Linked DNA regions of Homo sapiens: regions 1, 3, 4 and 5 are each linked to region 2. Evidence: promoter capture Hi-C in 16 types of primary human blood cells and fetal thymus (Javierre and others, 2016). All regions are on one chromosome and are shown on one strand. Each heading gives the region's core, a stretch centred on a gene start or on the middle of the fragment in contact. The rest is flanking DNA. Distances are from core to core; before and after follow the strand shown.

Region 1 (2,700 bases), core at 31-2,530, 500 kb before region 2:
TATGTGAACCTTGAAGAAATCAGCTTGATGGGAGTGAGGTACGTAATAAATGGATAGGAGTGGGAGCAGATTAAGAAAGACCTCAAGAGCCAAGCAGAGACTTAAAATACCCTGGAAATTAGAAAACAGCCATTGGAAAAGTTTTGACAAGTTTTAGCATTCTGTCGCACTCATCTTATACATGAGGACTGATATTTCTGGGTCTTTCTGGTTACTGTGTTAGATTTAGGAGATTTTTGGTTCATGGTTGACTATCACCTGCTTTTGGTTTTCAGATTTGTGCTACGGATGCTGTAGATGATATGGAAGAAGGTCTTAAAGTCCTAATGAAGGCAGACCCTGGTAGACAGGAATCCTTGCAAGCAGAGGTTATCCCAGATCCAATGGAGGGAGAGCAAACCTGGCCCACTGAGGAGGAGCTGAGCGAGGCAAAGGGTCAGTATTGGTAAACTTGTCTGTAATTCATCTGACCTGGAATTGTGGATTTTCTGTAGCTGTTCCAAGTGAGGGCCCTATAGGATAGAGTGGGGTGGGGGTATAGTTGAAAGTCTCTCCTCACCCTCAAATGCTGTATGTTTTCAATAAACAAACATTATACACAGTCTTGTTCCATTTCTCAAAATTACTTGTGTTAATGTTTTATCATGAACAGATAAACAACTTTGGATTCATTGCAGGGCTTATTTAGCTGTGTAAGTATTGCTAGTTGTGAGGCAGCTGAATTAAATTTGGAAGTAGTTCTATTTACAGTGTCTGCCAGAATTTCCCATGTTGGCAGCAGTATCTGGTGCCTTGCCTAGGTGAGAATAACCAGAGGGATAGGGAAAAGAAGTCTGTAATTTACTTAATTTGTTTGGGCTTTTACAGATTTCTTGAAGGAAAGTTCTAAGGTGGTAAAGAAGGTCCCCAAAGGAACATCCAGTTACCAAGCTGAATGGATTTTGGATGGTGGCAGCCAAAGTGGTGGGGAAGGAGATGAATATGAATATGATGATATGGAACATGAGGATTTTATGGAGGAGGAATCTCAGGTAAGGAAATGAGGCCTTAGGCCAATTCTGTGTCTAGCTCCAAATGTAAGGCAAAGTGCAGGTGTGATCTTGATGGGTGTGTGTGGTTAGTTTCTTTTTTTTATTTTTTTTATTTTTTTTTTATGAGACGGAGTCTTGCTCTGTTGCTCAGGCTGGAGTGCAGTGGTGCGATCTGGGCTCACTGCAAGCTCTCCCTCCTGGGTTCACGCCATTCTCCTGCCTCAGCCTCCTGAGTAGCTGGGACTACAGGCGCCCACCACCATGCCTGGCTAATTTTTTTGTATTTTTAGTAGAGACGGGGTTTCACTGTGTTAGCCAGGATGGTCTCAATCTCCTGACCTCATGATCCGCCTGCCTTGGCCTCCCAAAGTGCTGGGATTACAGGCGTGAGCCACCGCACCCGGCCGTGTATGGTTAGTTTCTTAGGAATGACTCTGTAGTTGCCAGGAATGAGGCTTTTGTTTTATACTTTAGACTGTATTAGAATTTATGTTGGTTGGGAATAGGGATCTAGTACAATTATTTTACTCTTAGCTTATTGGCCTTTGGGGTAGAGACAGGTGTGGATTTCTTCTGAAAAAACTGTAATCCTATTCTACAGGATGAGAGTAGTGAAGAAGAGGAAGAATATGAAACTATGACTATTGGGGAGTCTGTGCATGATGATCTGTATGATAAGAAAGTAGATGAAGAAGCTGAGGCAAAAATGTTGGAGAAATATAAACAAGAAAGACTGGAAGAGATGTTTCCAGATGAAGTGGACACGCCCCGTGATGTGGCTGCTCGAATTCGGTTAGTCAACAAGTCTATCAACAAATCTAAATTCAGTCAATACGTTTTTAAAAACTTGGCTCAGAGCTGTGTCACTGTGATGCAAAAGAAGAAAAACACATTTTTTCTGCTCCTGAAGAGCTAACATTTAATATGGGAAGGCAGGACATACATACGGGAAATGGTCATATGTAATTAAGTTCTAGACTGTGGTGCAGACTCACGTTACAGGACTTGAATGAAGGGGAAATACTAAGGTTAATTAGCAAATACTTCTTCCCAAAGGAGCCAGTACTCAATTGAAGTATATAATGTTTGGAAATTTTAGGGGGTTTGGGTAGAATAGCAGAAGTAGAAGAGTGAAGAAGTAGATGATTATATCTGTTCTGGAGGTGAGTGACTAAAGCCAGTGAATTAATTTTGGATATTAGGAGGTAAGGCTATGTATTAGGCCATTCTCGCATGGCTATAAAGAAGTACCAGAGACTGCATAATTTATAAAGAAAAGAGATTTAATTGGGTCATGGTCCTGCAGACTGTACAGGAAGCATGGTGTTGGCATCTGCTCAGCTTCTGGGGGTGTCCTCAAGAAACTTACAATCATGGCAGAAGGTGGAGGGGGAGCAAGTCATGTCACACGGCCAGCGCAGTAACGAGAGCAAGGCAGGAGGTGCTACACACTTTAAACAACTAGATCTCATGAGAACTCACTCAACAAGGAGGGTGGTGCTAACCCACTCATGAGAAAACCTCTCCCCTAATGCAGTCACCTCCCACCAGGCTCCACCTCCAACACTGGGGATTGTATTTCAGTATGAGATTGGGGCAGGGAGACACATCTGAACTGTATCAGGCCATTACCAAGCATCTTTTTTGTCAGTGAGAAGCTTGGGTTTGG
Region 2 (2,700 bases), core at 60-2,559:
TACGTATACTGAACTTAAAACCCTCTGAAGCATGGAATAAGCAGACAGATGACGGAAGTTTGTCTTTTAGAGTAAAGGTGGCTCTGTACAAAGAAATTTGTGAGCAACTGACATATATTAATAGATGGCAATGGAATTGCCTTGGGGCCAGGCGCGGTGGTTCATGCCTGTAATTCCAGCATTTTGGGAGGCCGAGGCGGGCGGATAACTTGAGGTCTGGTGTTCGAGATCAGCCTGGCCAACATGATGAAACCCAGTCTCTAATAAAAACACAAAAAGTAGCCGAGTGTGGTGGCGCACACATGTAGTCCCAGCTACTCGGGAGGCTGAGACAGGAGACTCACTTGCACCCGGGAGACGGAGGTTGCAGTGAGCCGAGATCGCGCCTCTGCACTCCAGCCTGGGCGACAGTGAGTGTCGCCCAGGCTGGAGAAAAAAAAAGAAATTGCCTCGGGAGTCAAGAGGGCCTAGAGGGAGCCTTGATTCAACAAAAATTTACAAAGAGGGACTTACAAATAAGACGGGGATAGACCTGCCAAGCTGAGCCACTAAAAACCAAGGAAGAGGGTGTGACCTGAAGCAAGCAGGGCTTAAACGCAAACGCTGCTGAGAACTCAGGTAAGCTGAAAACGGAAAAGGGCTGGATTTAGCAACTTGGAGGCCACTGGTACCTTCAGCCAGGGTTTTCTACAGCGATCAAAGGGATGACTGGAGTGGGTTAAAGAGTTGATGAAAGGCGAGGAAAGGAAGTGGCTGAAACCAGACAAGAAGTTTGGCTGTGGGTGGGGAAAGGAGAAGAGACAGAAAGTGTCCGCAGGTGGAAGATGCAGAGAAAGGCAAGCGTTTATTTAGTTTGTTCTTACGTAGGAAAAATGTGAGCATGTTTTAAAGACGATCGAAAGAATGCTTTGAGGAGGGGGCGATGACACTAGAGGGACGCCCGGCGGGTCCCCACCGCCCCCCGCCATCTCCTCCCCTCGCGTTCATCCCCCGTCGCCCCGGGCTCCCCTCCCCCTCTCTACTCCGCGAGGCTCGGGGCCGCAGCCACCCCGGACCGCCGGCCCAGCCCCCGGCACCTCCTCACCGCAATGGCCCCCTCGCTCAGTTGGCCGACCATGGCTCCACCGCCAAGACTTCCCCGCGGACCCCGCAACAGCTCCAGCTTCCCCACCCGGGTCCCGCGCGCTGCGCAGTTATTGGCCCGAGAAGTTGCGCGCACCGCTCCCGCCCCCGACGTGCGCGCGGCTCAGGGGCGGGCCCGGGCGCTACGCAGCCGCCGCATTGGCCGAGGCGCGGCCCACGTGACCCACCCATGGTCCCAAGCGAGGCCTGGCGCGGGACGCCGGACGCGGTGCGGGGCGGAGCGGGGCGCCAAGGGGCGCGCCAGGAGCTGCGCGGGCGCTGGGAGGGAGACCAGGGCGCAGTTCCGGGCGCGTCTGAGCGGTTCTCGAGGCGTTCTCGCCTCGGTCTCTGGCGAGTGCACGGGTTGGTATCCCAGAGGAGGTTAAAGCTGTTCCTTGAGACCTCCGCTGCTAAATAGAGTCGCAGTAGTGACCCGATTCGTCCAGCAACGCGGGGCTGACTTCCCGCCTCCAAGCCCTGAGCTTGGCACCGTGGCGGTGGGGGGTGGGGGTGGGGGGTCTCCGAAAGGGAATCAGACCCGGCCCCCGTCCTTAGAGAAGAGGACAGTGTGTGGGGGCACTTTATGCCGTCAGTAACCCCACCTCCAGGTAGACGTGGTACAGGCCCCAAGGGTGTTGGAATCACAGCTGGGAAATCAGGGACGCCGTCCCGGAGGAGGTGCCATTTGAGCCGAGTCGAAGAACGTGTGGGAATTTTCCAGGTGGACTCCATAAGCCAGGGTAGGGTTGGTCCGGAAAGCATGAGTAGCCTATGCCAAAACATTGGAGAGTTGAAATAGCCTGGCAAGCCGGGGATAGCAATGAGTTGTTCAGTATGCAAGGGTGCATGCAGAGGAGTAAGTGACACCTGAGAATTAGAAAGTCAGACAAGGGTCAAGTAAGGATGGTTTTGTCCTGGGCTTCCTGGTATGCTTGGAGTAGCGTTGATGAATTTAAGGGCAGAGCACTGACTTCTGTCTCAGTGTTGGAGGCTGGATTGAAAGTGGGGAGTGGTGCCAATGGCATGGACATTAATTATAACACTCTAGGAAGAATGCCAGACGAGATGGTGAGGACTTAATCAGAACGCTGAACTATGTAAGAGAGGGAAATACCTTGTTAAATGAATAGTTGCTGGGGTGGGTGAGAAAGAAAAATCTGGGATGTGTCTCAGAGAAACTAGAGAGGGATCAGGCCGGGCGCGGTGGCTCACGCCTGTAATCCCAGCGCTTTGGGAGGCCAAGGCTGGCGGATCATCTGAGGTCAGGAGTTCGAGACCAGCCTGGCCAACATGGTGAAACCCCGTCTCTACTAAAAATACAAAAATTAGCCGGGCGTAGTTGCGCGCATCTGTAATCCCAGCTACTCGGAGGCTGAGGCAGGAGAATTGCTTGAACCTGGGAGGCGGAGGGTGCAGTGAGCCGAGATGGTGCCACTGCACTCCAGCCTGGGTGACAGAGCAAGACTCTGCCTCACAAAAAAAAAAAAAAGAGGATCTAAGAGCACAGATGGTAGCTATCTAGTCTGCTTCGTCTTTGTATAACCATCACCTGCATGGTGCCTGTGACAAAGTAGTCTT
Region 3 (2,700 bases), core at 201-2,700, 490 kb before region 2:
AGCTATCATCACTCTCACTGAAATTAAGGGCACTTTTCCACTCCTTTCTGAAGATCTACCCAGTACCTTGAGAAATCAAGTACCTTCCAATTTGGCAGCATAGGTGAGAGCCTGGCCATGGTTTCCACTGCTGTGAGTAACAACAGCTTTCGGCTTCCTTTCTAAAGCATCAGGAACCAAGCTTCTGACGGCATTGAGAGCACCACGAATCTGAAAAAGAGGGATGGTGAATTCACATATTTGATTAAAACATTGTTTTGGAAAGCAAGGAGCTTTTCTAGATTTTCTATCCTTAACATGCACATCCAATCTGTCACCAAATCTTATCGATTTACCTCTTAAATATCTCATGTGCATCTTTATTTTTTATTTTTTTGAGATGGAGTCTCCGTTATCCCGGCTGGAGTGCAGTGCCACGATCTCGGCTTACTGCAACGTCCGCCTCCCCACACTGCGTCTACCCCCAGGGCCGGGTTCAAGTGATTTTCCTGCCTCAGCCTCCCAAGTAGCTGGGATTATAGGCACCTGCCACCATGCCCGGCTAAATTTTTTTTTTTTATTTTTTTAGACCTAGTCTCGCTCTGTTGTAGCCCGGGCTGCAGTGCAGTGGCGCGATCTCGGCTCACTGCAAGCTCCGCCTCCCGGGTTCACGCCATTCTCCTGCCTCAGCTTCTCGAGTAGCCGGGTCTGCAGGCGCCCGCCACCACGCCCGGCTAATTTTTTTGTATTTTTAGTAGCGACGGGGTTTCCCCGTGTTAGCCAGGATGGTCTCGATCTTTTGACCTCGTTATCCGCCTGCCTCAGCCTCCCAAAGTGCTGGGATTACAGGCGTGAGCCACCGCACCCGGCCTTTTTTTTTTTTTTTTTTTTTTCCCCCGAGATGGAGTCTTCCTCTATCACCCATGGTGGAGTGCAATGGCGTGATCTCAACTCACTGCAACCTCTGCCTTCTGGGTTCAAGCAATTCTCCTGCCTCAGCCTCCCAAGCAGCTGGGATTACAGGTGCCTGGCACCAAGTCCCGCTCATTTTGTATTTTTAGTAGAAAGTGTTTCACCAAGGCTGGGTGCGGTGACTCATGCCAGTAATCCCAGCACTTTGGGAGGCAGAGGCGGGCGGATCACAAGGTCAGATCAAGAACATCCTGGCTAACACGGTGAAACCCTGTCTCTACTAAAAATTCAAAAAAAAAAAAAAAAAAATTAGCTGGGCGTGGTGGCAGGCGCCTGTAGTCCCAGGTAATCGGGTGGCTGAGGCAGGAGAATGGCGTGAACCTGGGAGGTGGAGCTTACAGTGAGCCGAGATCGTGCCACTGCACTCCAGCCTGGGGGACAGAGTGAGACTCCGTCTCAAAACAAAACAAAACAAAACAAAAAAGCGTTTCATCATGTTGGTCAGGCTGGTGTCGAACTCCTGACCTCAGGTGATCCACCTGCCTCAGCCTCCCAAAGTGCTGGGATTACAAGTGTGAACCACTGCGCCTGTCATATATTTGTATTTTTTGTAGACAGAGTTTTGCCGTGTGGCCCAGGCTTAGATCTTTTATATTGATAATGTATCCATGTGTAGCAAGTTGATACAGTGAATGCTTAAACTTGGGTCATATACAGAGTGATAACACTTTCCAATTTGCCTGCAACAGTTCAGGTGTCTGTTTAGATATTTCAGGTTGCTTCTTTCAGTCCCAAACATGTCCTAGTTTGGATAATAAATTATGTCTTAGTTTGGACAGTAAGTGATGGTATATATAATAAAGTCATGCTTTGCTTAAGGATGGGGATATGTTTCGAGAAATGCATGATTTGGCAATTTCATCATCTTGCATGCACCATAGAGTGTACTTATACAAATCCAGCTGTTACAGCCTATTACTCCTAGGCTGCAAACCCTGTATAGCATGTTACTGTACTGAATACTGTAGGCAGCTATAACACAATGAGAAGTATTTCTGTATCTAAACACAGAAATCGTACAGTAAATGTGTGGTATAACCTTATGGGACCAAGGACCACCATCATATAGGTGGTCTGTCATTGACTGAAACGTTATGTGGCATATGACTGTATTTTATGTATATATTATATATATGCACATACATATATATAAAAATTACTCGGATAAGTTATATATATTATCCTAATTATAAGGATTTATGACTGTGTAAAAGTTGCTTATCAACACTATGATGCTAGGTAAAACAAGGACTTGAAAGGAAAATTTCTGTAACCTTTTTTCCAGCTGTATAAAGGCATTAATTTACTTCTGCCTATCTCATTGGGTGGTCAGGAGAATCAAACTGATATGTGAAAGGGTGTGAAAACATACATGATACACTGAGAAAAAGGATTGTTACCTTAAAAGATCCTGTTTTCTGGAAGAGTTCACATTTGAAGAAAAGATTGCGCCCTGTTAGTTGATTCAAAATGGAGCTTGTTAGCACTGGTGTGAGGTGGATAGAATCTCGAATGTTGATATGAGCTTTTTCAACATCAGCAAAGGAGATGCAATACTGAGCACACATGGTTCTGAAACCCAGGAATAAGAAAGGGGTCAAAGCAAAGTCTGAGACAGTATGTTTATTGAAGAGATTTTGAAAATACGTAACAGAATAGACCTGGGGCCTGTGGTGTCATGTGGAAATTCTCCATTATTGGAGTGTCAGAATTTCCCTAAAAGAGAGTTGACTTAAAAGCTGAACGAAG
Region 4 (2,700 bases), core at 113-2,612, 370 kb after region 2:
CTCCCTTTGCTTTGAATGTCCTTCCCCGCCGAGTGCGGTGGCTCACGCCTGTAATCCCAGCACTTTGGGAGGCCGAGGTGGGCGGATCTCAAGGTCAGGAGATCGAGACCAGCCTGGCTAACACGGTGAAACCCCATCTCTACTAAAAATACAAAAAGTTAGCCGGGCGTGGTGGCGGGTGCCTGCAGTCCCAGCAACTCGGGAGGCTGAGGCAGGAGAATGGCGTGAACCCGGGAGGCGGAGCTTGCAGTGAGCCGAGATCACGCCCAGGCACTCCAGCCTGGGCGACAGAGCGAGACTCCATCTCAAAAAAAAAAAAAAAAAAAAAAGAAAGAATGTCCTTCCCCATTTGTCATTCAGCAGTCAACACATGCTGCCTCCTCTGGGAAGCCCTCCTGGATTACTCCATAGACTGGCTGTGGGGGCTCTGCTCTGTGTTCATGTCCGTTTCCCATGATAGCGTTTGTCAGCATTTGTCATCCTTTTGTCATCCAGTTTCCTGGTTCCTCTCACTGGTCTGTGAGTTCGAGGAGTGCAGGGCCCAGCCATGATAACCTTTGCACCCGCAGTGCAAGTGGAGTGTCAACAACAATGTCCTAGGTGAATCAATGAAAATGAGAACGTCAGCTGGTCTGTGGAGAAGCTAGAGGAACGAGCAGAAACGGACCGACGTGGCCGGGCGCGATGTTTCTCGCCTGTAATCCCAGCACTTTGGGAGGCCGAGGCGGGCGGATCACCTGAGGTCAGGAGATTGAGACCATCCTGGCCGACATGGTGAAACCCCCGTCTCTACTAAAAATACAAAAAACAGCCGGGCGCGGTGGCTCACGCCTGTAGTCTCAGCTACTCGGGAGGCTGACGCAGGAGAATCGCTTGAACCCGGGAGCAGTGAGCCGAGATCGCGCCATTGCACTCCAGCGTGGGCGACAGAACAAGACTCCGTCTCAAAAAGAAAAAGAAAAAAGAAACAGACTGATATCGCAGGAAGCCTGGCCGAGAACTCAGGCCCCAGGGCCACACGCATCTTTTCTCCTCCAATTCTGTCTGGGAGTCGCTGCCTAGAAGTCCCAGGTCGTCCAGGAACCGGGGCCCAGACGAGAAGCACCGCTCTGTCCGCAGCGCAGGCGCGCGTCTCTGCGGGAGGCTGCGAGGCCCCGCCCCTCGGGCCCTAGACCCCGCCTCCCATCCCCCGCAGCCCGGGCCCGGGAAGGGCGGCACCGCCCATGAATCCGCATGCGCAGTGCGCGCGCGAGGGCGCCTTGCCCTTCTCCCAATGGCGGGCCGCGGGCCCCTTCCCGGCAGCCTCCCTCGGGCAGGGAGCGCGTCATTTCCGGAGGGGGAGGCCCGCGGCTGCCGCCGCCATTTCGGGCGCTGCTGTGAAGCTGAAACCGGAGCCGGTCCGCTGGGCGGCGGGCGCCGGGGGCCGGAGGGGCGCGCGCGGCGGCGGCACCCCAGCGTTTAGGCGCGGAGGCAGCCATGGCGGGCAACTTCGACTCGGAGGAGCGGAGTAGCTGGTACTGGGGGAGGTTGAGTCGGCAGGAGGCGGTGGCGCTGCTGCAGGGCCAGCGGCACGGGGTGTTCCTGGTGCGGGACTCGAGCACCAGCCCCGGGGACTATGTGCTCAGCGTCTCAGAGAACTCGCGCGTCTCCCACTACATCATCAACAGCAGCGGCCCGCGCCCGCCGGTGCCACCGTCGCCCGCCCAGCCTCCGCCCGGTGAGGGACTGACGGGACGGCGGGCCCTGGGCGGGGTGAGGGCCGCGGAACTCCCAGCCTGGCTGGCTGGTCCTCGAGAGCGGACCCTCGGGGGTCGTGGGCAGAGGGCTGGGTGACCGTGGCAGGGGCCCGCCGGCTGCTCGGGCTCGCTCTCACCCGGGGAGCAGGAGTGTGGGGGAGGAGGAGCCGCGGACCGAGGCCCCGGGGTGTGCCTGGGGAGGGCAGCCGCGGGGAAGGGGAACTGCTTCGGCCCCAGGGTGGGGCTGGCTCCCGGGCCAGGCGCAAGGGTAGGGCAGGGCAAGGCAACGTGGGGACAAAGAGCTGAGGGAGATGTTGGCACTGCGGGGGCATCACTTGGCAGCGGCGCCCAGAATGAATCCGATAATCCTACAAGTGGCTTTTAGGCTGGAAACGTTTCCTGCCGTGTTGGAGAGCCGGGTTTGGCCGTGCTCCCCTGGTGGCCTTTGGTAGGAAGTCACCACATACTGGCCGGGAGGGATGGAGACACCCTCAGGAAACCGGTCAATTTTTTCCTTTCTTGGGCATTTTTCCAAAATCTTTGTACCGTTCTCTTCCCCCGTGGAGGACGAAGGTGGTGAACTAAGTGCTAGAAGAAATAGTGGTAGCAGAAAGCCTTCAGTGACCAGCCCAACCCAGTTTAAGGCGATGCCTGGCTATGTGCAAGAGATCTAAGCGTCCAGAAGACTGTCCGCCGTTAGAGAGTTCTGGTTTTCAAAGTGTTTAGTGGAGGAAAGACATTTTATTCCACAAAATAAACCAGAAGTGAGGCAATGGAAACAGACCCTTCCCTGTAAGTGACTGGAACTTCATTTTCCTTGGACTTAAACATTGTCGGTGTGTACTTCAGGGCGTCACCTTGCTCAGTAAGATGGGGCTGCGGGCTGAGTCTTCCTGGATATTGGGAACAGACTCTACGCCAAGAACATAAATTACCTGCGCTGGGTTTTCCTTGCCAGGGAGGG
Region 5 (2,700 bases), core at 36-2,535, 430 kb before region 2:
TCCTTCAAATAGTTCTTTCTCTGCTTTATTTTATGTATTAGCAAAGGTTGACTCACTCTAAAGTCATGCCTTCCATCATTCTGGGAAGCTTTCTGAGCCAAGCCCAGCTTGGCTTAGGAATAAGTTATGCTTTGTGTTGTAATCATTGGCACTAAGTCCTATTCTTGACTTTCACACACACAGTAGGACTGCAGCTCCTGATGCGTATGGGAAAGAGGAATTGTGATAATACTCGCTATGGATTTACATTTTTCTGGGATTTTTTTTCTTGATAAAGATGCTAAAACCTTATTCTTGCTATTGAGATTTTGAGTTTACTTGTGCCACAAATCTCTGAGATGCTAGGTCCTAATTTGTCAAGCAAACTATGTTAACACATTTGACATTCTCTTCTGAGGAATGTCTTTGGCAGGTTTTCCTTTAGACTTCTGGACAGATCTATAAAACTCTATGGCTTTTGAAATACTTGCAAGTGACATATGTCAAAAGGTTGAATAAGGCACTAATAGTGCCCTTCGTGCTCCTAGGAAGCTGTCACTTGTGGTCACTGCAGACCAGGAGTGAGATCTTATGGGTTGCATTCCTAAATTTCTTTTTGTTTGCATGAACAGATTTTTTAATCTCTTTCCTTGTCTTTACATCCGTACACTGGGGATATAGCATACACCATCAACACATCTGCACAGCTTTGTCCACCGAGGGGTAGCAGAAAGTTGTTTATTATAGCACCAGTCATCTGCATGTCTACCACCTCAGAGTTAGAATAATGGTGGGGATTAGGACATATGGGGCAAAGGGTATTTATTGGCTGTGAAACAAAGGCTTTTTGTGGACTAGTAGAAAAAGTTGTGGCAATTTAAAAAATTATTGCAGAGTTAAAAGAAATCTTCCAAAAATATATATACACAGAAAAGTGCACATAACAGAGCCATACAGGTGATAAATTGTGACAATGTAAGCATACTTGTATAACCAGCAGTTTATTTACTTGTATCGCTGTCATTCTTCTCTTCCCTTTTTTTTTTTTTGAGACGGAGTCTCGCTCTGTCACCCAGGCTAGAATGCAGTGGTGCGATCTTGGCTCACTGCAAGCTCCGCCTCCCGGGTTCAAGTGATTCTCCTGCCTCAGCCTCCTGAGTAGCTGGGACTACAGGTGCTCGCCACCACACCTGGCTAATTTTTTTTTTTTTTGTATTTTTAGTAGAGAAAGGGTTTCACTGTGTTAGCCAGGATGGTCTCGATCTCCTGACCTCGTGATCTGCCCTCCTGGGCCTCCCAAAGTGCTGGGATTACAGGCGTGAGCCACCGCGCCCGACTTTTTTTTCTTTTTTCTTAAATATATTTTTGAGATAGAGTCTTGCCCTGTTGCCCAGGCTGGAGTGGAATGGCATGATCTCGTCTCACTGCAACCTCCGCCTCCCGGGTTCAAGTGATTCTTCTGCCTCAGCCTCTCAAGTAGCTGGGATTACAGGCACCCGCCATCACACCCAGCTAATTTTTGTATTTTCAGTAGAGACAGGGTTTTGCCATTTTTGGCCAGGCTGGTCTCAAACTCCTGACCTCAGGTGATCCACCCACCTCGGCCTCCCAAAGTGCTGGGATTACAGGCATGAGCCACTGCGCCCGGCCTCTTCCCTTTTAACTCTAAACTCAAATTTTTTTCTATACGTTTAATGATAGCAGTGACAGAGCATTTTAAATAAATTAGGAAGAAGTTAATGCCCATGTTTTCCTTGCTTTGTGGATCCTTGTTAAGATTGATTTTCATTGTTCAGAGACAGAGGACGAAGAGAGAATTTGGAAGATAAAGAATTGGATCAAAGATAAAAGATTTGAGGTGTTTGCTTTGACTTTTGAACTACAGAGTTTGGGTCTGGGAACCAGCACAGAAAAGATTTGATTGACCAAAAAAACTAGCTGGAAGCAGGCCTTGCCTCCAGTCACAGTGAAACTGAGTCTCTCACCAACAGTGCTGTGGTTTACAGCCTTCATCTTGAAGCATCTGGCTGTGGGGGGGGAAAGTGACATCATGGCCTGCCTTCTCCTGGACATGCTTGGTTCAGCTCAGATGTGGAATCCCAGAAGATCTGCAATGCGTGTTTCTAGCCTTGTTTTTAGTGTCAAGGCGAATGCCAGGCTGTAGCAGGCCATGTTGTTGTCTTTGTGTAATCCATTTGTATTCTAACAGTTTTCTTCTTTTTCTGCTGCTAGCTGCCAGGGAGGTAGAGTTGCCTCTGTTGATAAAGAGCAGATACAGAAGTTCACATCCAAACCTGAATGACCATTTTTAACTTGAAACACTTTTCCTGGGAGTTGATGCGCCAGAATCCTTCCCTTATTTGGTGCCTTGCTTAAATCTGAAGCTCGCACAAGGTAGCCAAAGCTCCCTGTGTGCTGGTTATTTGCTTTATGGCAAATAACCACAGCAGAGTGGTTTGTGAAACCGTCTTTGTGACCACATCTATCTTAAACTGAAGCTTCGTTCTCCTTTGGGTTCTTAGATTAGTTCGTGCTCCTCCCTTTCCTGAGAGATTCAGGGGTTTTCCTGTATGGCGTTAGGTAGGTAGAGAGGTTATATTTTCAAATATTTTTCTGGACTGTGCACAGTCCCTTTATTAGTGTGCGAATGCACACATATTCCTTGAACTTTTTTTTTTTTTTTTTTTTTGGAGACAGGGTCTCGTTTTGTCACCCAGGCTG

What was found. Contacts are between HindIII fragments. The CHiCAGO score rates a contact against its expected background, and 5 or more counts as called.
Region 1: a contact is called between a fragment that was not itself captured here and the fragment with the promoter of SMYD4 in region 2, in 1 of 17 cell types (total CD8 T cells). The highest score is 5.4, in total CD8 T cells.
Region 3: a contact is called between a fragment that was not itself captured here and the fragment with the promoter of SMYD4 in region 2, in 2 of 17 cell types (M1 macrophages and M2 macrophages). The highest score is 5.2, in M1 macrophages.
Region 4: the fragment with the promoter of CRK here is called in contact with the fragment with the promoter of SMYD4 in region 2 in 1 of 17 cell types (neutrophils); the score reaches 8.1 in neutrophils.
Region 5: a contact is called between a fragment that was not itself captured here and the fragment with the promoter of SMYD4 in region 2, in 2 of 17 cell types (M2 macrophages and naive CD4 T cells). The highest score is 7.0, in M2 macrophages.

The regions. Positions count from the first base shown.
Region 1 is chr17:2,331,292-2,333,991 of GRCh38, reverse strand. TSR1 (TSR1 ribosome maturation factor) reads left to right here. Exons shown (of 15, transcript NM_018128.5): 6 at 276-435; 7 at 868-1,031; 8 at 1,633-1,823. Among named protein-coding and RNA genes, the nearest start is that of SNORD91A, 2.3 kb to the right of the region's middle. The HindIII fragment of the contact is 2,823 bases long and covers 1-2,691 here.
Region 2 is chr17:1,828,511-1,831,210 of GRCh38, reverse strand. It overlaps SMYD4 (SET and MYND domain containing 4), which reads left to right and starts at 1,309. Exons shown (of 11, transcript NM_052928.3): 1 at 1,309-1,485. It overlaps RPA1 (replication protein A1), which reads right to left and starts at 1,206. Exons shown (of 17, transcript NM_002945.5): 1 at 1,085-1,206. The coding sequence starts at 1,117. RefSeq lists an enhancer at 1-310 and a silencer at 938-1,457. The HindIII fragment of the contact is 18,459 bases long and covers 1-2,700 here.
Region 3 is chr17:2,315,380-2,318,079 of GRCh38, reverse strand. SRR (serine racemase) reads right to left here. Exons shown (of 8, transcript NM_021947.3): 2 at 2,352-2,523; 3 at 84-210. The coding sequence starts at 2,519. Among named protein-coding and RNA genes, the nearest start is that of SNORD91B, 12 kb to the left of the region's middle. The HindIII fragment of the contact is 2,533 bases long and covers 184-2,700 here.
Region 4 is chr17:1,454,894-1,457,593 of GRCh38, reverse strand. CRK (CRK proto-oncogene, adaptor protein) reads left to right here and starts at 1,362. Exons shown (of 3, transcript NM_016823.4): 1 at 1,362-1,717. The coding sequence starts at 1,477. RefSeq lists silencers at 1,054-1,553, 1,644-1,703, 1,814-1,943 and an enhancer at 1,208-2,193. The HindIII fragment of the contact is 20,688 bases long and covers 1-2,700 here.
Region 5 is chr17:2,259,642-2,262,341 of GRCh38, reverse strand. The region is part of intron 8 of SMG6 (SMG6 nonsense mediated mRNA decay factor); the gene reads left to right. Among named protein-coding and RNA genes, the nearest start is that of SMG6, 43 kb to the left of the region's middle. RefSeq lists an enhancer at 2,497-2,626. The HindIII fragment of the contact is 2,389 bases long and covers 91-2,479 here.